Regions from separate parts of the Homo sapiens genome. Here regions 1, 2, 3, 5, 6 and 7 are each linked to region 4. The links are contacts of gene promoters, found by promoter capture Hi-C in blood cells and fetal thymus (Javierre and others, 2016). All regions are on one chromosome and are shown on one strand. Each heading gives the region's core, a stretch centred on a gene start or on the middle of the fragment in contact. The rest is flanking DNA. Distances are from core to core; before and after follow the strand shown. Region 1 has its middle 55 kb from the start of IMPA1. Region 2 has its middle 50 kb from the start of ZNF704. Region 3 has its middle 49 kb from the start of FABP12. Region 4 holds the start of FABP5 (fatty acid binding protein 5). Region 5 overlaps IMPA1 (inositol monophosphatase 1). Region 6 has its middle 65 kb from the start of FABP12. Region 7 has its middle 71 kb from the start of IMPA1.

What was found. The method cuts DNA at HindIII sites, captures the fragments that hold promoters and counts their contacts. A CHiCAGO score of 5 or more calls a contact.
Region 1: a contact is called between a fragment that was not itself captured here and the fragment with the promoter of FABP5 in region 4, in 8 of 17 cell types (M2 macrophages, M1 macrophages, M0 macrophages and 5 more). The highest score is 10.0, in M2 macrophages.
Region 2: a contact is called between a fragment that was not itself captured here and the fragment with the promoter of FABP5 in region 4, in 1 of 17 cell types (neutrophils). The highest score is 6.2, in neutrophils.
Region 3: a contact is called between a fragment that was not itself captured here and the fragment with the promoter of FABP5 in region 4, in 5 of 17 cell types (M0 macrophages, M1 macrophages, M2 macrophages and 2 more). The highest score is 15.0, in M0 macrophages.
Region 5: a contact is called between a fragment that was not itself captured here and the fragment with the promoter of FABP5 in region 4, in 2 of 17 cell types (M1 macrophages and M2 macrophages). The highest score is 6.2, in M1 macrophages.
Region 6: a contact is called between a fragment that was not itself captured here and the fragment with the promoter of FABP5 in region 4, in 3 of 17 cell types (M0 macrophages, M2 macrophages and M1 macrophages). The highest score is 8.8, in M0 macrophages.
Region 7: a fragment that was not itself captured here is called in contact with the fragment with the promoter of FABP5 in region 4 in 2 of 17 cell types (M2 macrophages and M0 macrophages); the score reaches 10.4 in M2 macrophages.

What each region holds. Positions count from the first base shown.
Region 1 is chr8:81,629,622-81,633,311 of GRCh38, forward strand. It overlaps the pseudogene IMPA1P1. Among named protein-coding and RNA genes, the nearest start is that of IMPA1, 55 kb to the right of the region's middle. RefSeq lists a silencer at 1,133-1,427. The HindIII fragment of the contact is 2,102 bases long and covers 1,106-3,207 here.
Region 2 is chr8:80,923,245-80,927,177 of GRCh38, forward strand. No RefSeq gene overlaps it. Among named protein-coding and RNA genes, the nearest start is that of ZNF704, 50 kb to the left of the region's middle. RefSeq lists an enhancer at 3,141-3,285 and a cis regulatory region at 3,206-3,219. The HindIII fragment of the contact is 1,865 bases long and covers 741-2,605 here.
Region 3 is chr8:81,580,643-81,584,257 of GRCh38, forward strand. It overlaps a transcript of FABP12 not described here. Among named protein-coding and RNA genes, the nearest start is that of FABP12, 49 kb to the left of the region's middle. The HindIII fragment of the contact is 5,486 bases long and covers 1-3,615 here.
Region 4 is chr8:81,278,075-81,281,844 of GRCh38, forward strand. FABP5 (fatty acid binding protein 5) reads left to right here and starts at 2,462. Exons shown (of 4, transcript NM_001444.3): 1 at 2,462-2,600. The coding sequence starts at 2,522. It overlaps LNMICC (lncRNA associated with lymph node metastasis in cervical cancer), which reads right to left and starts at 3,350. Exons shown (of 2, transcript NR_186603.1): 1 at 3,259-3,350; 2 at 1-2,302. RefSeq lists enhancers at 2,105-2,939, 2,940-3,770 and silencers at 2,131-2,210, 2,221-2,510. The HindIII fragment of the contact is 5,532 bases long and covers 1-3,770 here.
Region 5 is chr8:81,657,992-81,662,156 of GRCh38, forward strand. IMPA1 (inositol monophosphatase 1) reads right to left here. Exons shown (of 9, transcript NM_005536.4): 8 at 2,525-2,676; 9 at 1-1,475. The coding sequence ends at 1,360. Among named protein-coding and RNA genes, the nearest start is that of IMPA1, 26 kb to the right of the region's middle. The HindIII fragment of the contact is 627 bases long and covers 2,377-3,003 here.
Region 6 is chr8:81,597,355-81,601,114 of GRCh38, forward strand. No RefSeq gene overlaps it. Among named protein-coding and RNA genes, the nearest start is that of FABP12, 65 kb to the left of the region's middle. RefSeq lists an enhancer at 2,570-3,345. The HindIII fragment of the contact is 430 bases long and covers 1,691-2,120 here.
Region 7 is chr8:81,613,807-81,617,803 of GRCh38, forward strand. It overlaps the pseudogene IMPA1P1 and the pseudogene NIPA2P4. Among named protein-coding and RNA genes, the nearest start is that of IMPA1, 71 kb to the right of the region's middle. The HindIII fragment of the contact is 3,474 bases long and covers 1-3,408 here.

The DNA.
Region 1 (3,690 bases), core at 907-3,406, 350 kb after region 4:
AGTAACAGATTGGCTATGGAGTATGAGGGAGAGGAAGAGTTCAAGGATGACCAGATTTTCCAGTCTGGCAACCGAATCCATAACGGTCACATCTACTGAATGGGGAGTAACAAAAAAAAGAGTCAAGTTTGGGATGTGGGTAAGAGGTTGGAAAATTAAGAGTTCAATTAGCAGAGATATGAGGCCTCCCTGAAATCAAAAGAAGCTGTCAATTATTCAGCTGAATAGATAGATCCTGAGCTCAGAAGAGAGGTTTGGCCTGCAGATATAAACATGTAAGTTACTTGAGTAGATAGCAACTGAGGGCCTGAGTCTGGACTTCATCGGATAGGCATGATTGATAGATAATTGTGTAGGAATATCATCCCACAAAATCTGTATGATCTAATAGTAATAGACCAGGGAAACCCAGTGAGGTCTGTCTGTTCAGATTCTTCTTGGTTCCCCTTTGCAGCATTCCTTCCTCCTGGGTATGGAGCGGGGCCTCTTCCGAAATGGGAGTCTTATGAACTACAATCAGACAAAGATAGGCCAGAGAATTTATTTATAACCAGCTACAAGACACAAAGGTAGGGGAAGATCCTTACCTTGGGGAGAAAAAGCAGCAGATGAAAGGAGGACAGAAGGTCAAAGAGAGAAATTCCATTTTTCTGGGGGCTGCAGTGCCCCGACATTATAACAAAAGACTGTAACAAGGGCTTATGGGAGTTATGAGCCAGTAATGGTGGATGAAAACATATATATGTAATACATTTATTCTGATATACACATATGTATCATATCACAAGTACATTTCTTAATGGAAAGGGGCCGTATTTACTCACTTTCATTTTCCCAAATCCATAAACACCTGAACTGTTTCCTGCTGTTTCTGTCCTGGTCACACCCTTCCCAGCGTGGGAGCCAGGCCATCTTCCTCTCGGCTACCTGTCCCCAGCAGTGCGACTGGCGCTGCGCCATCTCTTACGGTGACTACCTGTAAGTGATCTCTCTGCCATCTGTCGGCCACCTGTCCCTAGCAGCGCGACTGGCGCTGCCAGTCATCCGGGCGCTGCCCCATCACTTACGGTGACTAACTGAGCCTGGGATGCGCCAAGTTTCTCTAAGCTTTTCGGAGTAGGGAAAATGAAAAGCGGCAATGATTCCACAGAAGCTGCCACAGGGGTTAAGTGCAGTGGCGTCCGCGAACCGCTACTCCAACATCGGGAGTGTTCCTGGTCACCCCAGGGCAGCTCCAGATAACGTGGCAGGCAAGAGTCACCCAGATGCGGCCTTCGCCCCAGGGGCTGACCGCACACCGCAGACCGCCCTCGCCCCCACCCCAGCAGAGAGAAGCGCCGAACCCGGAGAGGGTGGCGAGGGGGGCGGGGAAAACAGGAGCCTCACCTCGAGTCGGCGAGCGGGGCGGGGAAAACAGGGGCCTCACCTCGAGTTGTCCTGCTAGCTGGGTGCCTGGTGCTATCCAGCCTCAGTGCTTTGGGAGGCAGAGGGGCTGCCCGGGACCAAAAGGTCGCCGCTTCTTAAGCCCATCAATGAGGGGGCGTGGTTGCTTTGCTGGGCCCCGCCCCGAGCTGCGCCCTGAGAGGCTCTGCTAGGCCCGGCCCGGGTCTTCACCGGCGCAGGAGCCTCAGATCTGGCCTCTTCTTTCCCAGTTCTGGTTCTTCTAACTTCTTTTCTCCTGCTTGCCCCTTCTTCTCTAAATCTTTTTAAAATTCAATTCCTCTTTATTTTTCTCTTTTCTTCTTTATTCTTCCATTCACTCGCCTTTTCCCATTTCTCTTTCTTTACCCTTTCTCTCATTTTTCCGTAGTACCATTTTGACAAAACACAAATTGGAGATATGACTTCGGTTGAGCAGCTTTTATTTGCCAAAGCATTACCTGGTAAACTTATATTAATTTTTTTTAATAGTCAGTAGCCAGAACTAACTGCCCTTTTTCTCAGTGATATATTTAGATACCACCTATCGAGGACTTACTATGCTTTCAGCAATTGTGTTTTTATATGCATTATTTTTGTTAAACGTTGCCTGAGGTACGTATAATTAGCTTCATCACACAGATGAAGAAACTGAGGCTCAGAGAAGGTAAATGATTTGTCCTCACACAGGTCACAGGTCACACAGCAAGAGCAGAGCAGTGAAACACACTGACTCCAAAGTGTTGGGGCTCAGAAAACGACACCCCAAAATGAAGTCCTCAGAAGCAGCCTCACAGAAAAAAAGTTATTTGAAGCCTCTTGCCTTCCTGTCTCTGGCCCCACATTCTCCCTCAAGGCTTGCCTTAGAAACTGGAATTCTTCTTCCCCAAGGCAGGTCCTAGAAACCCAAAAATATTATTCTAATCTCCCCAATTTTTCGCGTAAAAACAGACCATAAAGAAATTATCCAACCCACTTTTTCTGACTGTAGGTCTCAAGACCCCCATTCCACAGAGGGTCTTGCCCAATGCACAGAAGGAAGGAATGCACCACAGAGAGGCCAAATAAAATCTAAACAGACAGGCTTTGCTGGGTTTCCCCACTCAGTCTATTTGCATTACACTATACACTTTTGGTCCAATCCTATTTCTACACAGCTGGTTATACTTTGTTTGAACCTAAACATAAAAATGGACTGTTCCCCTGTATCTTGGGTCTTCATTCTGAAGGCTCCCATGTCACTTAAAACTATGATCAAATAAATTTGTACCCTTCTCTCCTATTAATCTGTCTTTTGTCAGTTGATTTTCAGCAAGCATTCAGAGAACAAAGGGAAATTTTCCTTTTGGTCCTACAAAAGTCCTCACGCAGAGAATGTACGGCACAAGGAGGTTGCATTATACGAGGTACAAGGACTAGTTTATGGTCCTTAAAATGTTTCCTCTTCTTGAAGGGGCAGCATCGTGGTACATACATCATCATCATGCAAAAACTGTTGCACAGATATAAGATGTCCCAGCCACAGCAGGAACAGAAAAGTGAGCTATTTGGCTCCTTGCTTAGGAAGTGATTGTTTCTCTTCATTTAATCTAAGGACAAGATGTTGTCACAATCATGTTGCCAATGAAACACTTCCCAGAGATTAATGATATGAACTGTGGACCCAATTCCCACACCCCACAAAGAGCAAGAAACTTGTCTTTAATTGTCTAAAGAATGATGCCTAGGTATCTGGTTTGGATATCTCTATTTGCCTATTAAATGATTTTTTGTTTTGTTTTAAAGACAAGCTTTCAGAAACTAGCTATTTCATTCTTCATTGTCAATCATCTTAAAAATCTTGCCAACTGCATGATGACAAGTGTTAATTCATAACTAAATAAAAATTTCCAGGCTTTTGCAGAAATGTCATCCATCATCTTTTAACCTTTTTAAATGAATGTGGTCCCAGTGATTTGGCAAAGCTGCTAAAATCAGTATAATCAATTTGAAGCAAGAGAGATTCAATATCACCTATCTTATTCCTTCAAATGATAACATTTCAAATTACCTGTGTCAGGTGAGCAAGAAGCCTAGTATTTTTCTAGAGACCTTAGCATCTGCCTCACAATTGTTGTCAGGTAACCTAGATTTTTTCAGTCCAAAGAGGCCGTTCTGCTTCCAAATGCCTACTGAAAGTGAAATGCAAAATCTGTCGGTACACAGGGAAGTCTTAGTGTTCAGATTTGATTGTGGTAAAGCTGCAAACTGGTCTCACAAATCCAAAGGATC
Region 2 (3,933 bases), core at 423-2,922, 360 kb before region 4:
AGGCGCAAGCCATCCTCTCATCTCAGCCTCCCTAGTAGTTGGGACCACAGGCACATGCCATCATGCCCAGCTAATTTTTTATTTTTTGTAGAGATGGAGGTCTCCCTATGTTGCCCAGGCTGATCTCAAACTCCTGGGCTCAAGTGATCCTCCCTTCTCAGCTCCCCAAAGTGCTGGGATTATGGGCGTGAATCACCACACCCAGCTGCGCAATATTGTGAATGCACTAAGTGCCACTGAATCGTGCACTTTAAAAATGGTTAACATAGTAAGTTTTATGTTATGTGTATTTTGCCACAATTTAAAAAAAGGGATCACGGTAACACATACCTCATAGGGTAAAGTCTTAAATTACATAGTAAGCACCAAATCATTGTTGTCAATGATGGTCAATGGCAGGGATAAAGGCTAGGAGAAGATAGAGGATCAGAAAAGTCAGGATTGAAGGGACGGACTGGGAAAGAAGTAAGCTGAGGCCTGGGTGGTAAGAACATGAGGGATGAGTGCAGGAATTGTGTAGTGGACATCGAAGAGGTGGTGTGGAAGGAAAACGTGTATACATGTGTATAGTAAGTTAGAGGGAGATACAGCAACCTTTTTATAAAATTCTAAGCAATGGACTAGTGTACACAAAACCAGCCTGAAGTCAATGGTAGGTTGATGTTCTGTGGTAAGAAGAAATTCAATGAATTTAGTACAGCATGCATGACTTTTCAAGCTTTAACTTATGAAGTAATCCAAGCTTCAGTTTGAGAGAGAGAGTTCACACCAAGAGCCTTCCTCTTTTTTTTTTTTTTTTTTTTTTTTTAACATTCCTGGGTGCAATTAAAAAGAGTAGTCAGGGTGGATGGACATTTTTGTTGGGCAATACAACAGATTTCAGGAGAGGAGGCTGTAATATTCAGTCCCACCTTGTCTGGCGGCAGCTCTGATTCTAGAGTAGTCTCGATAAGCACTTTCCAGAGAGAAAGAATAATGGGCCGATAGCTAGTAGTGCAACCCACAATGGCTCTGTGGGACACTCCTCATTTTCATGTCACCCTCAACCCTCCTTCACCTGCCAATATTCTGGCCATGATAGGCTAGATATGACGTCTATGGATTGCACACAGGAAAAAGCTGTAATTCTTGGAGTCAAAACATAGAAGGGAGAAGAGACAGGGAATAAGATATGAGCTGCTACAGACCCTTGCAGCTCACAGCTATCTACTTCCTTGCTCCTTGCCTAGGCTTGGTGCTTAGAAGCTCCTTTCTAGCAAATGCTCCCTTAGAAAAGGGAAATAAGATGCAGATTTGCAGCAGGCTAGGGCTAAAGAAACCCTGATAGGTGCTCTAGAAGCTGGGGGAAAATAGTTATCAGCTGTGTTTACAAGCTGTATTTCTGTCTTGCAGGTGTGGTGGGTGGAATTGTTTACAGGTGAAGGCGTCCAGCTTCCTCTATTCCAAGCCCTTGCCTCATCCATACATTTTCTTCTGCAACTCGGTCTCCAACTACTAAATGAGAGTCCTTGCCAGTTGGGTTCCTGGGCAGTTTATTAGGCAGAATTGGGAGAATGGAAGAGGGTAGGCCAGAGAAATGGAAAGGTTGGTGGAAAGGAAGTGAGTGAATGGGGCTAATGGCTTAGAGTGGCAATGGTGATCTATATCGCAAAAAGGGGAGAGAAGGTAGGCCAGGGGACTAAGCAGAGAGAAGCCATGTGGGCTGTATTGGAAGAGGGAATTTTGGATTTTACAAGTTAGAGGCTCTTGGGGATTGCCGGAGACTTATGGGTTGGGGGAGAATTGGCAGAGAAGGAGGTAGAGGCTTTGAGGGCTCTTGATTAGAACCCGTGAGGGAGAGGGAAGTATAGATTCGAATCCTCTTTAATTCCTATTTGGCAGCTGGACTGGTACTCTTTAAACATAGAGATGAGACCACAGGAGATCAGCATGTATTTGGGTCTCATAAATAAAAGTAGAGACTTGACTGCCCCCTGGTATAACTTGTCCCTTTGTTCTGAGAAAGCGATCCAAATGATGCAAAGACCATTGATTCAAAGAAACACGGATGAGAAGCCATAGCTCTAAGAAGCAAAACTCTCCAGTGGGACATTGGAAATGTGCTTTCTGTGATTTACCCTGAGATGCTTAAAGGGTTTGTTTTAGCAGCAGCGCCATCTTTCTCTGTATTTGTATTAGATGGAGCTTATCTCTCCAAACCAACAAAACTCTGTTTTTTGAAACAACAGAAACAAACTGTTTCTTTCATAGAAGTTCCTCTTTCTACACACACACGCACGCACGCACGCACGCACACAAATGAGTTGTAACTTATCACAGCTGTGGAAGCAGAGAATGTCCAGGGCAGCTTGAAAGTTAAGGAAAGATCTCAAGGACCATTGATTTAGGAAAACTAACTCCAGGGGCATTCATTTCACCAGCCACTTTCTCCTTCCCCCCAACAGGTGAGAGAAGAAGTTTAAGTTCTGCTTACAAATGAGGTGAGAGTTCATTTAATCTATTCACCATGACCAAAGTTACAAAGGGCTCTCTGGTTATTAAGCATTCAGTTATTTTTTCTTGTTTTCAAAAATTGATTTTTTTTTCAGTCTAAGAAAGTAAATAAAGCTTATTTCTTTCAATCTTTCAAAATATTACAATGAGATTATTTGAGCCTCTGTTCTGGTAAAATCATCACTTTTTCAAAGATGATTTCTTGCTGTTGTCTCATTATTTACATGGTCAGAGAGGTTACTTAAAGAGTACCGCTTTAAAATCTGGAGCATTGAGAGAGAACCACAAACAGCCCTATACCATGAAAAATCCTATTTATGTGGGAGGGAAATTTTCTTAAACGTCAGTTTTTAAATCAGTTTGGGACATTAAATCTCTCCACCTCCCACTCTCTCCTCCCTCACTGACTTCTGAGGAACAACAACCACCAAGAAAAAAAAAAAAAAAAAACCACTGTGTTTTGAATTCCATTATGTTTCCAAACTTCCAAGTCAGAGGAAATTATTTAAAATGACTTACCCCACACAAATACACATAAGGAGGGAGGGAAAAACAAATTGCCAGCTCACAAGATTGTTTCTCTACTAACCACCCGCTTTTGCTGACCTGACAAATTAAAAGTATGTAATTTCCTCACGGCATTTCCGACATATTTTAGTGATATTTTGTAAGAGTTAAGAGAGTTCTGTTTGCTCTTTTTACTCAAGCCTCTTGGACTTTGGTCCTCTGAACAGGATCCTAAGCTTGGAAACTCTCCAAGTGACAGAAAATTGGCAAGTTCTTCATCGTTGATTCCTTACTGGCTCTTTGGAGAGGAAAGGAGTTCTGCTCAGGATTTGGCTGAGCCCTTTGCTTGGCACCCCAGCCAGTAACTCAAAAGTTCAAGGAACTTGACAGACAGAGGCTGTTTTTCTGGTGAGAGATTTGAACATGCCCAGTTGAGTCTGTCATCGCACGTCTGCATCTTGTCTCCTTCCAGAGGAGGCTTATTTCTGACCAGGCTTGTGATGGATGTATTCTATGCGGGAAGACTTTTGCCTGCCCCTGTGGCATTTACCCTGGATCAGGGTGAGCCCTGAATCTCTCTATTGCCTCAATCCATACAGCCTCACTGTGCCAAGTGGAAGCAGTGGCAGTGTGTGTATGTGTGTGTGTTATTCAAACAGTTAAAAAAAAAAAAAAGACAGAAGGCTTAGGCAGATTTCCAGAAAACAGACTGTGTCAGTCTAGACTAGTAAAACCCAGCCAGTTTAATTTCTGAATTTGTGGTTATTATTTCTGAATTTATTTTGTATTTAACCTACTTCCCCCTTGCCGCATCCCCACAAAAAAAGAGTAAAAAGGTGAGAAAAATGACCAACCAGTTTCAACCACTATCCTGGCATCATGAAAGTTAAAATTCCAAAGATTAGAGATTATATATTGCTCCTATGAAAAATA
Region 3 (3,615 bases), core at 438-2,937, 300 kb after region 4:
GCATCAGAATCCAGATGTTGGCCACAATCTAGTCTCTTGGAGTTTCCCATTGTCCCCCCAAAGGCAAAGTTCTGTCAATGCCTCTCAGCTGGACCCTAGGCACAAGTCTAGCTTATGCCCACCCACCCTGCCCAACTGTCTCCTTAAAACAGGCCTTTCTACCCATATTTTTGTTCATCCAGAAAGGGAAGCTATGGTAAGAGTCTTGAGTAAAATATACAACAGAATACTTTATAAATATAATAAATTCAATTTTATTCTTCCTATTGTGTAAGACTCGGGATAGACTGAGAACTTTTCCTGCTTCTCTAACATTTTTGATCCAAGCTGCTTTATCCTAGAGGTTCTCTTACTCTCAGGGGAGAAATAGTAGGACTTTGCTTTTGACTGCATGGCCTAAAAGCATGGCCTGGAGCAAGTCTCCAAGACAAGGGCAAGAGAAAATCAACAGGACGGGGAAAAGATTGAGAAGAGTCTGTTGCTGGGTAGAAATGCTAAACTCTAATCAGAGTGCCAACAAGGATACAATGAAAGCTGGAATGAAGGCAGAGCCCACTCTTAAAGGCTCTTATGCCTTTGTTGAACCCATAGGGGCCAATGCTACCCAATCACAAGGCTTGAAAAGGGAGGACTTTGATTGTGATCATAAGTGTCTCTTTCCTAATATTTTTACCTGTGGAAACACTCTTCTGCTCCAAAAGTCTGGTTTGACCCTCAGGAAGGGGAAGGAATTCCCTACCCATGACTAAGATTGAATTTCTTAGCATCCTGGGGGGATAAAGCTCAGAACCAGATTTAACTTCATTTTGAACAAATAAGGGAATGTAACATTTCTACATCCCTAAACAGATACAGTGCCAAAAAGGTCTTCTCCATGGCATATTATAGTCAATTTTTTGAATGTCAAAGACAGAGAGAATTCTAAAAGCAGCAAGAGAAAAGCATCTAGTCACTTATAAAAGAACCCCCATCAGATTAACAGTGGATTTCTGAATAGAAACTTTACAAGATTGGAAAGAATGAGATAATATATTCAAAATGCTGAAAGAAAAAGAGTTAGCCACAGATTCCATACCCAGCAAAGTTATTTTTCATAAATGAAGGAGAAATAAAGTCTTTTCTAAACAAGCAAAAACTGAGAGAATTAATCACAATTAGACTGACTCTACAAGAAATGCTCATGGGGTCCTACACCTGGAAGTGAAACAGCAGTATCTACCATCATGAAAACACACAAAAACATGAAAACAACTGGTAGAGCAAACACACAAACAAGGAAGAGGAAAAGCTCAAATATTACCAATACAGAAAACCACCAAATGACACTGAAACAAGGAGAGAAAGAAAAAAACAAAAAATAAACAAAACAACCATAAATCAATTAATAAAATGAAATAAGCATCAATGTATCAGTAATAACTTTGAATGTTAATAGGTTAAATTTCCACTTAAAAGAAATACATTGGCTAACTGGAATTTTTTTTTTTTTTTTTTTTTTGAGATGGAGTCTCGCTCTGTCACCCAGGCTGGAGTACAGTGGCATAATCTCGGCTCACTGCAACCTCTGCCTCCCGGGTTCAAGTGATTATTTTGCCTCAGCCTCCCCAGTAGCTGAGACTACAGGCGTACTCCATCACGCCTGGCTAATTTTTGTATTTTTAGTAGAGACAAGGTTTCACTATGTTGGCCAGGCTGGTCTCAAACTCCTGACCTTGTGATCCTCCCGCGTTGGCCTTCCAAAGTTCTGGGATTATAGGCGTGAGCCACTGCACCCAGCCCTGGATTTTTTAGTGACCCAACTATAAGCTACCTACAGGAAACTCACCTCACATGTAAAGACACATGTAGACTAAAAGTAAACAGATTGAAAAAGATATTCCATTGAAACAAACCACAAGCAAGCAGAAGTAGCTATAATTATATCAAATAAAATAGACTTTAAGTCAAAAATAGTAAAAAGAGACAAAGAAGGTCATGATATAATGATAAAGATATCATTTCAGCAAGAGGTTATGACAATTCTAAACATAAATGCACCATGCACTGAGGATCCAGATATATATAACAAATATTACTAGATTTAAAGGGAGAGAGAGACTGTAATACAGTAATAGTTGGGGACTTTGATACCCCATTCTCAGCATTAAACAGATTATCTAGAAAGAAACTTAACAAAGAAATATTGGATTTAAACTGAACATTAGATCAAATTAACCTAACAGACATTGACAGAACATTTCATTCAGCAATTACAGAATACATATTCTTCTCAGTACATGGGAGATTCTCCAGGATAGACCACATGTTAGGACACAAAACAAGTCTCAGCAAATTTTAAAAAATCAAAATTATATTAAGTACCTTCTCAGACCACAATGGAATAAAACTAGAAATGCATAAAAAGAGAAACATTGAAACTATACACATATATGAAAATTAAACAACAGACTCTTGAAAGACCACTGGGTCAAGGAAGAAGTTAATGAAGAATCAAGAGCCTCTTGAATCAAATGAAAATCAGCACACAACATGTCAAAACCTATGAGATACAACAAAAGCAGTGACAAGAGGGAAGTTTATAATAGCAATAAGCACCTATATCAAAAAAGTAGAAATATTTCAAATAAACAATCTAACAATGCACCTCAAGCAACTAGAAAAGCAAGAAGAAACAAAACTCAAAATTCACAGAAGGAAAGAAATAACAAAGATCAGAGCAGAACTGAACAAAATAGAGACAAAGAATCAACAAAACAAAAAGTTTGTTCATTTAAAAAGATAAACAAAATTAATAAAATATTTGTTAGACCAATCAAGAAAAAAAGAAAGAATGCCCAAATAAACATAATCAAAAATGAAAAAGGAGACATTATAACCGATATCACAGAAATACAAAAGAGCATCATAGATTATTATGAATGACTACACACTAAAAAACTGGAAAGACTGGGGGAAATGAATAAATTCCCGGACACATACAACCTACCACGATTGAGTCAGGAAGAAATAGAAAACTTGAACAGACCAATAACAAGTAATAAGATCAAGGTAATAATAAAAAGTCTCCCAACAAAGAAACAGCCAGGAATCGATAGCTGCACAGCTGAATTCTAACAAATATTTAAAGAAAAACTAACACTAGTTTTCTTCAAACTCTTCCAAAATTGAAGAGGAGGGAATGCTCCCTGACTCATTATATAAGGCCAGCATTACCCTGACACCAAAAGCAGACAGGACACAACAAAAATAAAAAACCTACAGGCTAATATCACTGATGAATGTAGATGCAAAAATCCTCCACAAAATATTATCAAACTGTGTCCAAAACCCCATCAAAAAAGTAATACACCATAATCAAGTGGATTTATTCCAGGGATGCAAAGATTGTTCAACTACACAAATCAGTCAATGTGATACATCCTATCAATAGGCTGAAGGACAAAAAACATATAATCATCTCAATGGACAAAGAAAAAGCATTTGATAAAATTCAACATCCTGGAGAGTGACACCAGCAAGTTGGGTGAGTAAAGAAGCCTAGAATTCTTCCCCCAACAAGAAAGGACCAAGTCAATGAATAAACAGCTAAGATTTGACTAGAGTGTCAAAGGCGTG
Region 4 (3,770 bases), core at 1,212-3,711:
AAAAGGCAGTTTTCTAAGCTACTGGAAGAAGAGTTGCTAGTAATTCTTGATTCTTCAGTCATTTTCATCCATAAGAATAATGTGTTATTATCTTCCAGTGTGAAGGAAAACATGATATAACACCTGTATTACCTATGTGCTGTTACTAAAAATAATGAACAGCACAGTTACTAATGTTCGTAAGGACAGGTTAGGATAAAACTATTGTTTCTTGTTTCCTATGTTGTAATTAATCACAATCAAGTGATGATTCTCCTCCTTCTTTCCAAGAAGAAATACTCAACCATCTCCATAAAGTTATATGAGACTTCAGTGAAATTTGATTTCACAACATTTTTGGTTTTACACCTCATAATGGGTGCAAGGTAAGTAGCCTAGAATAGGCCTTTACTTAGCGGGTGAAGGCAGTACTTAACTGCTTTTTCACAGCTTAAAATCCATTACCATTACTCTGGAGAAGGAAAGAATCTGAGTAGTAGAGCTTAAGGGGCATTAGAAATAATCTACTCCAATCATACATCTGTATATGCATCAGATGTGGTGTCTGAAAACAAGACATTCAATGTGTTTCCCTGAGGAACAGAGCAATCACCATGCCCTTTTTTGTTCCACAAGATACAATAACGGTTATTATTCTGGCCATATAGCTTTGTTTTGTCTGTATGTTTTAACACAAAAGAATTATTTCCACTCATCACATCAGAGATTGTGTTTAAACTTAAGTTTTAAGTAAGGCCTTGGGATTAAAGGCTATTTCTTAAGTACCTAAGTATCTAGTACTCCAGTGCCATTATCTTTTTGATATTTCTGTAACATGTTAGATTATGATCATTTAAAAATTAGTATCAGAGTGCTGCGTCCTATTATTACTACATATAGTCTATACAGAAATGGATAAGACATGTTGAAATAGCACATGAAGAGCTCAAGTTCAAACACACAGGCAGCCCTAAGGAGCTGCCTGAAGTGCCTGGTAGCCAGGGCTTCTCATCACTGAGTAAATGATGCACTCAGCTTCCCTCAGAACACGAATATTTTCTGAGCAGTAGGGCCTCGGGTGTGGGACATGCAGACCCTTATTGGGAAAACAATTGAGTGTTAAATGGTACCACAAGGAAGACTGGTGTGACCCTAAACTGAGGGCAGGGACTTGAAATGAAAGGGATGCAGTTCAGGGGAGTACATGTCCTGCAGCATGTTGGGAGATAGCAAACCAACCTCAGATTTCAATTTTGTCAAGGATGATACAAGAACTAGTAGTGTCTCGGTGACTGTGGTCTACTCAGAGCTCCATCACAGCTACCCTGAGCCCAAGGCAGTCAGGTGTGGTCTGATTTCATAAGGTCTTCAGTGAGACGGACCTGGATGGGGATTCTGGTTCTACCACTGTGAGAACTATCTTTGCCCTATTTTCTCTTTTGAAAAATTGGGATAACACCCCTAGCAAAAATATAGTGGAGACCAATGTCTATAAAGTGCCCAGGAAGCACATCTAGCACTTAGTAGCTACTCAATAAATGCACATTACCGCTATCGAAACGGCCAGCCTGTGTGGCAACTTCCTCACCTCAGTCCATCTGACTTCCAACAGGCACCCGGGAGCACCAAGTAATAAATTGTGAAGAGTACACTTTGAAACGTATCATGTTCTACGCACATGTGTAGGGTATTATTATAGTTCAAGAGAAAGAGGGAACCCGCTGGTGTCTGAGAAGAAACCCGCTGGTGTCTGAGAAGAAACGGTGAAGGGTGCACTACGAAGGGAATATAAACTAATCAAACATTCTTGAATGGCAATGACAGTCACTAAAGTTGACACTTCCTGCAGTCTTTTAGTTTAGAAACCACACTTCCCGAGACGTCCCCCATCCCAACAGGGATAAAATCCTCTAGCTCAACTCAGGTATATCCCCACTATTGGGCCAGGGAGACCTGCGGATGGCGAGAGCAGGTTCTCTTAGGAGGGTGTGGATTGTGAGCTTGTGCGCTGGCGAGGAGCAGAAGGTCAGGGAGGCACCGTAGTTAATGAATCAATAAACCAAACAGCCGATCAATCACTTCCTGCAGTCCGAGTCCGGCGAGGGCTAATCGATTGGTCCGGGTATTTTGAAAGGAAAAACGGCGGTGGATATGTTGTCAAACGGAGGGGTGCAGGAGAGGCGGGGCCAGGCCTCCAGGTGACCCCTCTGGCTTCCTGGGCCTGCAGAGGCGCCGAAACGTGCAGGCGCCGGCGTCCATGAGGCGTGGGGCGCGCCGGGCGAGTCCCTGCTTGCAGGAGGCGCCCGAGAGGCCGTCGCGTACCCTGGCAAGAGGAGCTGGTTAGCACCTCCCGACCCCGAGAAGGCCCAGGGGGCGCCCGGCGGGCGGGGCGGGGACCGGGCGAGGCCCGCCTCCCATTGGCCGCATAGCGCCGCCCAGCGCGGGCCGCCGTTATAAAGCAGCCGCCGGCGCCGGGTGCCTCACAGCACGCTGCCACGCCGACGCAGACCCCTCTCTGCACGCCAGCCCGCCCGCACCCACCATGGCCACAGTTCAGCAGCTGGAAGGAAGATGGCGCCTGGTGGACAGCAAAGGCTTTGATGAATACATGAAGGAGCTAGGTGAGGCACCCGGCCTGGCAGCGCCTGCAACGTGGCGTGTTGTGCGGTCGTCTGTCCCTAGGTCCCCGTCAGCGTGCCAGATTCTGGGGCAGGAGATGCTCGGCGGCCTACCCCCATCCCCTCCCATCTTCCCCACCACGCGGCCGTTGGGTGCAGCGCGCGCAGCACCACGCGGGCAGGCGGCGAGGAGCAGGGAGCGTGCGCGCCTCTTGCCCGCCCGCGGGCCGCAAGATTCCGGAGGTGGTCCACCCCGTGGTCCACCTACCTCTGCTTCTTTCCCTTCGCCCAAACGGCAGCCCTTCCGCATTGCTTCCTGTCCTTTAGCGCGCGCACCCGTCACCTCACGCTGCACTTCTTTCGACCCCCTCCAGGCGACCCTGTATTTCCCTTTTTTCCCCCTTTACTCATCCTTCCCCTTCCTGCCACCATTCTGTCTCTCCCATTTACCCCATCGTGGCAGCACCCACTCCCCTTTCCCTCCCTGTCGCATCTTTTGTTCCCTGTGGCGCGCAGGTCACCCTCCGTTTTCTTCATGGGGACGCGGTGCTGGCGCGCAGTTTCCCGCAGAAATCCTGTGGAGGGGTCTGAGTGGCGCTACAGCTTCAGCTTGCATTCCTCTGTCAGCCCCGTCTCCCCCAGGTCCTCTGCTCGCCCTTACCAGTTGAGCCGAACCCTTTGGATTGGTACCCCATGGAACACCAGGGCCCCCGAGAAGCGTGGCGCTGGCGGTGCCGACCTGCTGCTGGCACTGCCGGGCCGGGGCGCCGCAGTGGGCGGGTGGCCTGTGGGAGGAGCGCAATGAGGCCTGGGGGTGGCCGTGTGTTGCCATCCTGGCCTCTGCCACTTGAGGGTGAGGAGGAAGGAGGCAGTGGGCTTTGCTGGAAAACCGTAACAGAAACTGCCTGGCCCTCCTGCGGCTAACTGCATGCAAGATGGGTGTGGCCCTGCAGAAGGCAGATGACTTCTTGAAGCGTTCCGAGGGAGAATGAATCTCAGTAGTAAGATTCATTTCTCACTCAAAACAGTGCTTCATTATAAATTACTGTCCTTTTCTATGCCAGTGACAGATTGCATGCTGATTGAGACACTGGATAAATTGCAAACAAAAATGGACCTTTGTCACAGGCCACTAGGAAGTGAGATGGAGTTAGCATAGCATGGATCCTCTCT
Region 5 (4,165 bases), core at 1,440-3,939, 380 kb after region 4:
AATTTAATTGCAAAAACAACCTGTCTTAGAATACAGTATCAGATGTTTTAAGTACATGTGATCAACAGTACAAATAATTATAGCAGTCAAACCTTAGTATCACACATACTTAATATATTAGATATACACAATAATAAAATCACTCCCTACCTTGAAAACTTTACAGAAGCATTTTTAATTTTACAACACAAAGCTCAAACGAACCTACAATAAGTCTAGTAGTCTGTTTACGTGCCAAGGGATAAGGCTGAACAATAAATTAACCCTTTAAAAATGTCTATGAACAAGTACAATTTTCTTTTTGAGTTCTGCAGAGCAATGACCACTAAGAAATATTTTTAAAGGCTGAACAGAATCCAGCGGCAATGAAGTTAATTAAATAAGAAGACTAAGAGAAAAATAAACAGTTCAATATTAACAATACAGTATATTTGCCAGCACAATCAAATCAGTATAAACACCTTTAAAACATGAATACTGAACTTAGTAAAATGTTATATTGTATCTAATTATGTCAGATATCTGATGAGAGTGCTTTTTATTATAGAAATAGTTTCTTCTCTCTTACACAAGACTTTAAAGCAAATCCAAACAGACAATTTAACTGTTTTGGAAAATGTATTCACTGCAGAAATGCCCACAATAAGCCATGCTATCTGATGGTATGGTAATGTGAAATGGCATGGTAACGTGAAATAAAAAAAATTTAACTAGATAATTTTTACTTCAAACCTGAAGCAAAAGTACAGAATGCTGAGTTCATTACTTTATGTATCTATTGTAACTAGGAATTACTACATTAAAAATATTCATTCTTACAATGTTTGTTTTTAGTTGCCTAGATATGTAATGGGCCAGGTGCTATATGAACACTGAAGAATAAAACAAAAAAGGTTCTCTGCAAAGAAAAAAAAGTTGGCCTAGGGTACTCAGTATATCCTTACAAATTTAATTATATATGGTTTTTGAAACTAAAGAGAAATGTTTTTCCAAACAGTTAACTTTCTAAGTGGGTGTCTCTGCACCTATATACTAAGTCAAAATTTCAGGGGACCATAGATATTTAGAAACACAAAATTGCTAATTGACTATTTCAGTTGATGTTATATTTATCAACTGTACTTCCTGGGTATGTTTCCTAAAGTACATTCTTACATGCAAAATTTTTTAAATCAGTGAAACAAACATTATGTCAATTCTTGCAAACCTAGACATAGTAAAATAAGAAACAAGTTCCAAATTTTTGACCTGGACAAAGAGAATTTAAACCAAGCATATCATACATCCAAAACACATATCCATTGATGAGTCACCAAATCTGGGGAAAAGCAACTGGGATTGACTATGAGGCTGCCTTAATTAATCTTCGTCGTCTCGTTGCAAAGGTATAACCTGAATTTCTTTAGCTATCCTTTCTGCTAATATTCTATTATTTGCAGCAATTACTCTTCGTGACATCAAATCAAATGGTCCACCTAAAAGCAAACAAGTATGAAAAATAATTTTATCTGGTACAAAAATAATTCATATAAAACAAGTATAGCAATATGTACTATGGTCACATAACATTTTAATACTTTCAGTTTTCTTAAACAAAAATCTACTGTTACATTTCTACAATGTATAAGCTTAGACAATATATAACTGTTTCTAAGCATAATTTTTGAGTAAATAATGAAGTCATACCAGTTAGAAAATGTCATATTTTCTCTATTTTTGTGCATTCTTATTACCTCTTTATTGTTTAAGAATCTATGGACAGAAAATGTGAATCCAATGCATTTTCATACCACTGTCCTTCCCATTTCCTTATTTCTTTGTTGCCTTTCTCCCAGATCACTGGTGAATTCTTTCAGCACAGATTCACCCTTCGGTTTAAAATTTTCACCATCAGTTGAAAGCAATTATTTAACTTCTCTAGTCTCAACACAGAAAGTGATGGTGGAGGAAGTCCATCATCAACTATCACCATTGTCACCATTCAAAGAGCTCTGGGTATAAGCCTCAGACTCGGTGACTGTCTAGGCCAAGGGTGTCGAATATTTTGGCTTCCCTGGGCCACACTGGAAGAATAAGAATTGTCTTGGGCCACACATAAAATACACTAGCACTAATGACGGCTGATGAGCTAAAAAAAATTTTTTTAATCGCAAAAAACTCATTATGTTTTAAGAAAGTTTACAAAGTTGTGTTGGGCCACATTCAAAGCCATCCTGAGCCACATGTGGCCCATGGACTGCAGGTTGGACAAACTTGGTCTAGGCTTTTTCTACAGCCTTTCAGGAGTACCTGAAACTCACACTAGAAAAGGATTAGCCATTTATCATTGTAAGTCTCACATTACCATTACCTCTTATCCTTACCTCTATCTCCTAAAGCTTATTTTGATTTTGCACACAATTATATAGCTTGTTTCTGCTTCAAAAACTGCAGTATAACATATATCAAAAAGTTTTTTAAATTCTACATATGGACAAAAGTCCAACAGATGTGTGGAGATCTGCTTCACTCTCCATAATTTTACCTGTAACATCCATTAGCACGCCACCAGCTTCAGTAACAATAATGCCAGCTCCTGCAACATCCCAGCAGTGAATTCCCATTTCATAATATGCATCTGCTCCGCCAGTTGCCACAAGGCACATATTAACAGCTGCTGTTCCAACACTCCGGATCCTAACAAATAGAATTTAGAAATAAAATTGGAAAAAATAATCCTTTCAAGTAAGATATTCCTCCTTAACTTCACTTTAAGTGTCGATTGAAGAAACTTGGAACGATCTAGAGGATAAAGATTTTAAGAGGTGATATCTAATTGTAAAATAAAAATATGTATAAATCTAATTATCATCGTATATTATATAAATCACAAAACCCTCACAAAGCAATAATTTAATAAGATAAACATTAAAACAATAATTTTTCATAAAAAATAAAGACAATGCTTAATTCTACAATAATGAAATGCAAGTATATTAATATTTGTCTAAATCCAGCTACTAAAGCTTATATTATTTTACACACATATACACATACCCACAATGCAAATAGTCTCTAGGAGGTGTAAAATATCATGGTATGGGTCATTTTCAACTGGGTGTGCGTCATACATGTGCCTAAAGCAACAACAGCATGCCAGGCTCTGCAAAGACCTAAGCCTGCCTTGGAAAATTACTGCAGGTTTGCCCTCTCATAGCACCTCTTCCTTGAATACAAGTTAAGTTGAATATAAATACACTTGATAGCAATTATAGTAATAATTTATTCAGTAAAGAATCAATGTTAAAATTAATGGGTGAGTCTGATAATTTACAGAGTGTCAAAGTGTCTCTCCACAAGATACATAATAAGTACAATGGAAAAATAGCATCTTTACAATGGTCTACCATTACCAAGTTATCCAAGTTAATATCACTCATAATGGGACAAAAAGAAATGTGCCTGATAAAATGCACTGAGAAGGACAGAACATTACTTTTGCGGCATTCCTGCCAAAAATCCATGATCCAAATATAATCATGAGGAAACCAGACAAATTCAAATTCAAGAGACAGACTACAAAATAATTGGCCTATACTTCTGAAAAATGTCAAGGTGATAAAAGACAAAGACTAAGCAAGTTCTAAATTAAAGGAAATTGATGAGAAATGACAACTAAATGCAATACATGACTCTAGACTGGATGTTGGATTAAAATTTTCAAAATTTGAATAAAGTCTTATATTAGATTATGTATCCATGTTAATTCCCTTACTTTTATCATTGTACTGTGGCTATGTTAGACAATGTCCCTTTTATTAAAGACACACACGCTGAAATGTGTATTTAGAAGACAAACGTCATCATGTCTACAAGTTACTTTCAAGTGGTTTTTACACAAATTCCTTCTCCAACTGTTTAAAGCGATGGTAATAAGGGAGTGAGTTCTGTTCAATGAGATCTTTCACAGTTTATTTATTTAAAAACATGGAAAACTGATGACTAATGTGGCATTTGTTTTATATCTCAAAAATAAAAATAAAAAAATTGCACCTAAGTACATCCTTTATGCCAAATAAATTTTAAAAAGGATTAGAATAACATGATGTCATTGATTTGGCATGTTTTCCATCATATGTTTTTGAAGCACATTAAATTTGAGAAAGTAGTAGTAAGTGCACCAAAT
Region 6 (3,760 bases), core at 656-3,155, 320 kb after region 4:
CACAAATTTGTCTATAAGTTTTCCAGTGGCCACATTTGAAGAGAAACCTAGTCAATTACATAATTCTGGTCTATAAGAGAGATTCCCAAAGTTTTGTGTGCATCTGAGTCACCTGAAGAGCTTATAAAATGATAACCATAATTTCAAATTCTGTAGCTCTGTGGTAGGCTCCTAGAATGTATAATTTAAGCAAGTTCCCATTGACCTTGGAGATGAACACATAAGGACTCGGGAAAAGAACAGTTTTTTTTTATATTAAAATCTTAAAATCATAGTGAACTTTCTTCTAGGGAGTAACAAAGAGAACCTTGTGAGATACAATGAACATTCTTACAGTGATGCAAAATGAGTTTCAGAGGTCACTGGCTGCTGCTTACAATAACATTCAAATAGGCTTTCACAGAGCTTTGTAAAAGTAATTATATTGAGATTTGGTGAAAGTGGAAATGAGGGCAAACTATATAATAGTGTTTCCCAGGAACTTGATTTTTGCCAAATTGGCTTGACCCAGGATAGGAACTAAAAAGGACTTTATAACTACTCAGTGTCAACTTTATACCAAGCAAAAAGGTAAGAACCCCTTAGTAACTATCCCAGCAAAGCATACAAGCTTCAGGTCAGCACCGAGGCTGATCTACAAACTATAATGTGGTTTTGAAGGAGTGTAATCTAATTAATCTTGTCTTTAAAGTTTATTCTCCTTCAGGGCTTTAGTTGTGATGGAGGGAGGAGGCAGAGAGAGCCTGAATGGAAGGGACTGAGTAAATCCCCACTATGGGGATTGCTCTTCGTGAAGACTGTTTTAGTGGGCTAAAACAGTCTTTAGCCCACTTTAGTGAAGTTTGTTTTTAGTGGGCTAAAATCATCCAAATTTCTCAGTATGATAAAGTTGTCAATATAGATGCATTTTACATAATCATTTAAATTTCCTTCATTTCAGTTTTATAGCAGAAAATATTTGTTTTATTATATTTTTCACATCTCATATCTGTCAGTTTGATCTGAAATGACTGCAAGATTTTGGGGTGCTTCATGGGGTTTTGTTTTGCTTTGTTTTGTTTTTTAACAAATCAAGTATTATATGAGCTGGTCCTTTATGTGAAAAGGAGAAAATCTGGACTACTTTTAGACTATCTATTATTTGCAGGTGCGCATAAAATTATGGCCCTCAAACCTGAGTATAAAATAGCATAAGAGAGATGCTATTAGATATTAAGATTTCATTCATTTATTCAACAAGTATTTATAAGAACTTGGTATTTGCCAAGCACTGTGCCAGATAATTAGAGTACAAGAATGAGCAAAACACTGCCTCCACAGTGTTTATAGTCATGTCCTTACAGGCAAAATGCAATTATAACATAGTGTGGTAAGTGGTCTGAATGAAGAAATGCAGAAGACTCAGGAGAGGAAATAAACCCACCCTTGGGTTGTCAGGAAAGGCTTCTTGAAGGAAGTCACAGGGAAGGTAAGACCAAATATGTAGGTAATATACAAGTGGAAGTTAGACATGTGTGGGTGGGTTCAGTGTGAGTTGGGATGGGGTTCAAAATAGAAGGTGGAAGAGGGTATGGTCTGACCTCTGTATCTGCAGGCTGTGCATCTGCAGATTAAACCAAATGCAGATGGAAAATATTTGAGAAAAACAACCAACGACAACAACAAAAATACAACAAAAAAGAATGATACAAGCTTTTAAAATACAGTATGACAGCTATTTACATAGCATTTATATTGTAATGTAACCATCCAAGGGGTTCACCTTGCCTGCTGCCTACATACAGCTGATTTATCAAGACTGGGGAATTGCGATAGAGAAAGAGTAATTCACGTAGAGCCAGCTGTAGGGGAGACTGGAGTTTTATTATTACTCAAATCAGTCCCTGGAGCATTTGGGGATCAGAGTTGTTAAAGACAATTTGGTGGGAGGGGAGGGGCATTGAGCCGGGGGGTGTTGATGGGGCATCACTGTCTTCTTGCACTGAGTCAGTTCCTGGGTGGGGGGTCACAAGATCAGATGGGGCAGTTTCTCAATCTGGGTGGTGCTGGCTGTTCATCAAGTGAAGGGTCTGCAAAACATCTCAAGCATTGATCTTAAGAGCAGTTTAGGGAGGGTCAGAAGCTTGTAGCCTCCAGCCACATGACTCCTAAACCATAATTTCTAATCTCGTGGCTAATGTTAGTAGTCTAGTCCCCAGGCGAGAAGGAGGTTTGTTTGGGGAAAGGGCTGTTATCGTCTTTGTTTTAAACTATAAACTAATTTCCTCCCAAAGTAAGTTCCGCCTATACCCAGGAATGAACAAGGACAGCTTGGAGGTTAGAGGCAAGATGGAGTCATTTAAGTTGGATGGATCTTTATCACTATCTCAGTCATAATTTTGCAAACGCAGTTTCAGTATTAGGTATTGATATGGTTTAGCTCTGTGTACCCACCCAAATCTCACCTTGAATTGTAATCTCCATAATCCTCACGTGTCAAGGGTAGGACCAGGTGGAGGTAATTGGATCACGGGGGCAGTTTCCCCTATGCTGTTCTCGTGATAGTGAGTTCTCATGAGATCTGATGGTTTTATATGCATCTGGCATTTCCCCTGCTTGCACTCGCTCCATCCTGCCACCCTGTGAAGAAGGTGCCGGCTTCTCCTTTGCCTTCCGCCATGATTATAAGTTTCCTGAGGCCTCCCTAGCAATGCAGAACTGTGAGTCAATTAAAGCTCTTTCCTTTATAAATTACCCAGTCTTGGGTATTTCTTCATAGCAGTGTGAGAATGGACTAATACGGGTATTATAAATAATCTAGAGATGACTTAAAGTATAAAGGAGGATACCTATAGACTATATGCAAATACGGTAATGCCTAACCTTGTTTTTACTCTAACTCGTTACTTTTAAGTTTTCCCTGCTTGTCTCCTTAGTTACCCAGCCTTGTTTTTCCCATACGAGTAAGACTTTCTCTTGGCTGGGAAAGCCGGACAAACTCCATTTGGCTTCTTGATGTTTACAAGACATTAAGGGCTCCTTACCCAACCCCCTTCCTCAAGGAGTTAACCTGTGTAAGCAGATCAGCATTTCAAAGGAGCCCAATTGACTGATGAGGTACTGAAACAAACAATGTAAGAAGTTCCCAGGATTTTACTCAAAGAGGTAACAACATAAAGCCTTGAGACTGTGTCCGGCATAGCATCTATATCTAACTCTAATAAAGGACTTAGAGCCCCACACCTGGTTCCACTGTTTTTTTGTAACCATTTGTCTTTTAAATTGTTTATCTCTCTGTAACCATTTGTTTCTTTGATTCTTGCATGTTTTTACTTCTGCAGAATTATTGCATTTGAGTTCCCCTCCCCTTCCTAAACCAAGGTATAAAAGTTAATCAAGCCCCTTCCTCAAGGCCGAGAGAATTTTGAGCGTTAGCCATCTCTTTGGCCGCTGGCTTAAATAACGGACTCTTAATTCATCTCAAAGTGTGGCGTTTTCTCTAACTTGTCTGGGTATAACAATACTACACCATTTTATATTGGGCATTTGAGCATCTGCAAATTTTGCTATCAACCAGAGGTCCTGGGACTAACCCCCAAAGACACCAAGGGAGGACTGTATTACCTCTTACCCCTCAAAAACGAAAAAAAAAATCTCAGCTTGTTGTGAAGGTTCACAGCAGAGGAAGGAATGCTGCTGCAGCTGAAAGAAATCCAGTCTGAACTTTATGTCAGTGCGTGAAGCTGGAGGTGAAAACCCTGAGATGAGGAGCGGGGGATCA
Region 7 (3,997 bases), core at 422-2,921, 330 kb after region 4:
ACCAAGAGTGATTTGGTAATATCTAAAAAGGAAATGTTTTAAATAATCACTAGATTTTAATAACTAGAATTCTAAAAAAAGACACTTTTATTCAGAAGAAAATATAACATGTTTATCCCTCTTCCTAGTTTTATCAAATTCATTTCTAAGTTTTAAAATATTAAAACTGATAAACTTATTATTTCCAAGTCAGCTTTTTATAAGCATCAAAAAGAGTCCAGCTCCTTAGACCATTCCCCAAATGTACAGAATATAACCAATTTGCCTGCAGGCATGATACGTGTAGTGAAAAATGAGCAAATATCTTAAACACAAAAAGGTAGATGTTAGAAACTAAATTCAATAGCGAACTTATATATAGATTTGAAAGAAAACAAAAATGAAAATTACATGGTAGCTCTTCTCTCACTTCCATTTACAAAGCTGGCAAATTATCCAAGGCTTTCCATTTTCCTCTGAAACATCCTGACTGCAGCTCAGGACACACTTGACACCCCACACTTCACCTCTTCCCATCAGACAAGATATATGTTCACCAGGTGTGTTTGTCAGCATTTTTGTAACTGTTGTACTGCTTTTTAAAATTAATTTTAAGTTCCAGAGTACATGTGCAGGATGTGAAGGTTTGTTACATAGGTAAATGTGTGCCATAGTGGTTTGCTGCACCTATCAACCTATCACCTAGGTATTAAGCCCAGCATGCATTAGCTACTTTTCCTGATGCTCTCCTGTCCCCCAACTCACCCCCGACCGACAGGTCCCTGTGTGTATTGTTCCCCTCCCTGTGTCTGTGTGTTCTCATTGTTCAGCTCCCATGTACAAGTGAGAACATGAAATGTTTGGTTTTCTGTTCCTGCGTTAGTTTGCTGAGGGTAATGGCTTCCAACTGCATCCATGTCCCTGCAAAGGACATGATCTCATTCCTTTTTATGGCTGCATAGTATTCCATAGTATATATGTACCATATTTTCTTTATCCATTCTATCTTTGATAGGCATTTGGGTTGATTCCATGTCTTTACTATTGTGAATAGTGTTGCAATGAACATATGTGTGCATGTATCTTTGTAACTGAATAATTTATATTCCTTTGGGTCTATACCCAGTAATGGGATTGCTAGGTCAAATAGTATTTCTGGTTCTAGATCTTTGAGGAATTGCCACACTGTCTTCTACAATGGTTGAACTAATTTACATTCCCACCAACAATGTAAAAGTGTTCCTATTTCTCCACAACCTTGCCAGCATCTGTTATTTGACTTTTCAGTAATTGCCATTCTGACTGGTGTGAGATGGTATCTCATTGTCGTTTTGATTTACATTTGTTTAATGATTAGTGATGTTGAGATTGCTTTCACGTTTTTTGGCCTCATGAATGTCTTCTCTTGAGAAGTGTCTGTTCATGTCCTTTGCCCACTTTTTCACGGGGTTGTGTTTTTCTTGTAAATTTGTTTAAGCTCCTTGTAGATGCTGAATATTAGAACTTTGTCAGATGGATAGATTGCAAAAAGTTTCTCCCACTCTGTAGGTTGCCTGTTCTCTTTGATGATAGTTTCTTTTGCTGTGCAGCAGCTCTTTAGCTTAATTAGATTCCATTTGTCAATTTTTGCTTTTGTTGCAATTGCTTTTGGCGATTTCGTCATGAAATCTTTGCCCGTGCCTATGTCCTGAATAGTATTGCCTAGACTTTCTTCTAGGTTTTTCATAGTTTTTGGTTTAACCCATCTGGAGTTAATTTTTGTATAAGGTGTAAGGGTCCAGTTTCAATTTTCTGCATATGGCTAGCCAGTTCTCCCAGCAGCTTTTATTAAATAGGGAATCCTTTCCCCATTGCTTGTTTTTGACAGATTTGTTGAAGATTGATGATTGTAGATGTGCAGTGTTATTTCTGAGTTCTCTATTCTGTTCCATTGGTCTATGTGTCTCTTTTTGTACCAGTACCATACTGTTTCAGTTATTGTGCCTTGTAGTTTGAAGTCTGGTAGCATGATGCCTCTAGCTTTGTTATTTTTGCTTAGGATTTTCTTGGCTATATGAGTTCTTTTTTGGTTCCATGTGAATTTTAAAATAGCTTCTTCTAAATCTGTGAAGAATGTTAATGGTAGTTTAATGGGAATAGCATTGAATCTATAAATTACTTTGATCAGTATGGCCATTTTAATGATATTGATTCTTCCTATCCATGAGTATGGAATGTTTTTCCATTTGTTTGTGTCCTCTCTGATTTCCTTGAGCAGTGGTTTGTAGTTCTCCTTGAGGAGGTCCTTCACTTCCCTTGACGGCTGTATTCCTAGGCATTTTATTCTTTTTGCTGTACTACTTTTAATAGTTAAATAATTTAATACTTTGTAAAGTGAAGAATAATTATGCAAAGGAAAAGAGTTGTTTCTATGAAAGCTACCACATTTCTTTGGTTCATACATATTTCTATTATCCTATGATTTACTTTACCTATTTTATATAGATTATCCTCTGATTTACCTTACCTATTTTATATATATTATATTTATATAATTATAATTTTTATATAAATATAATATATATTATATTTTAACTTTTCTATAAAATATATGTATTATATTTTGTTATAATAGGTAAGGTAAATCACAGGATAATTTTGGGATAATTTTGTTCTTTATTAAAATCAAAAAGCCTATATGATTAGGGATTAATGAAGTGGGGATGACAAATAAATGTACATTTCAGACTTTCATCACCAATGAAAAAATAAAGCATTTTTATACACTTAAAACTGTCATTTTAAGCAGTGTTAGATTTTGGATAAGGATTCAAAATGTAAAAAAATCTCTACAGTAATACAATGTTAATAGAAATTAGTCATGCACTGAGTTCATTTTGGTGAGCTACCATTGTTTAAATTTCAGAAAAGTAGAGCCGGGCACGGTGGCTCATGCCTGTGAACCCAACATTTTGGGAGGCCAAGGAGGGTGGATCACAAGGTCAGGGGATTGAGACCATCCTGGCTAACATGGTGAAACCCCATCTCTACTAAAAATACAAAAAATTAGCCGGCGTGCCTGTAGTCCCAGCTACTCAGGAGGCTGAGCAGGAGAATCGCTTGAACTTGGGAGGCAGAAGTTGCCATGAGCCCAGATCATTCCACTGCACTCCAGCCTGGGTGACAGAGTGAGACTCCGTCTCCAAAAAAAAAAAAACAAAAAAACCAGAAAAGTGATTTCTTAGTTCAAATTAGTGAAACCTTTAAAAGGATTGTCTTTAAAGATCATTATTTGAGAACAGTGCTTTTTCAGACATATTCTGATATTCACATTCACTTTATAACAGAATTACAGATTAACCTTTTAATTATATCTTTCTTAAAAAGCTGTCAGAATTCCATTTCTTCAGGAGATATTTTCACCAGTGTGTAGTTTGATTCCACAGATTAAGCTTTTGCTTTCTTCATTATTATTAAGAACTTCTTACATATTAGAGAGATTGCCATTCATTGCTTTTTTGTCTTTTCGAAGAGACACAGGCAGACTTGCTAGACTAAAGCTGACACTCTTAAAAGCATGCAACAAGAATATCCCCACGATTATTGTAAAGCCAGTCAAAAGTACCAGTGACATCATCAATGGGCATATCTTGCCACTCCTTAAAAATAATAGCTGAACAAGTTTAAAAACTGATGTCGTAAAGAATATGTAATGTATTGGAGTCATGATGGAAGTGTTAAATATATCCAGGGCGCAATTTAGGTAATTAATCTATGTGTTCACACAGACAATGAGGCTTAGCAGCAGAACACAGGCCAGGGGATGTGGCAGTGCAGGCTTTCCAGCAAACAGCTCTCTGATAGCACTGCCTAGGCTCTTAACCCAGGAGACTGAAAATGTGCCAATTTGTTACATACACAAATGTGCAAATTGCTACATACACAAGATCGTTGTCCCTGGTGGGGACCCACCAGGAAGATTAATATCATGGCCATAATGACCACAAGTGTTGCAAAGTCCACAAAACCTGGATCACCT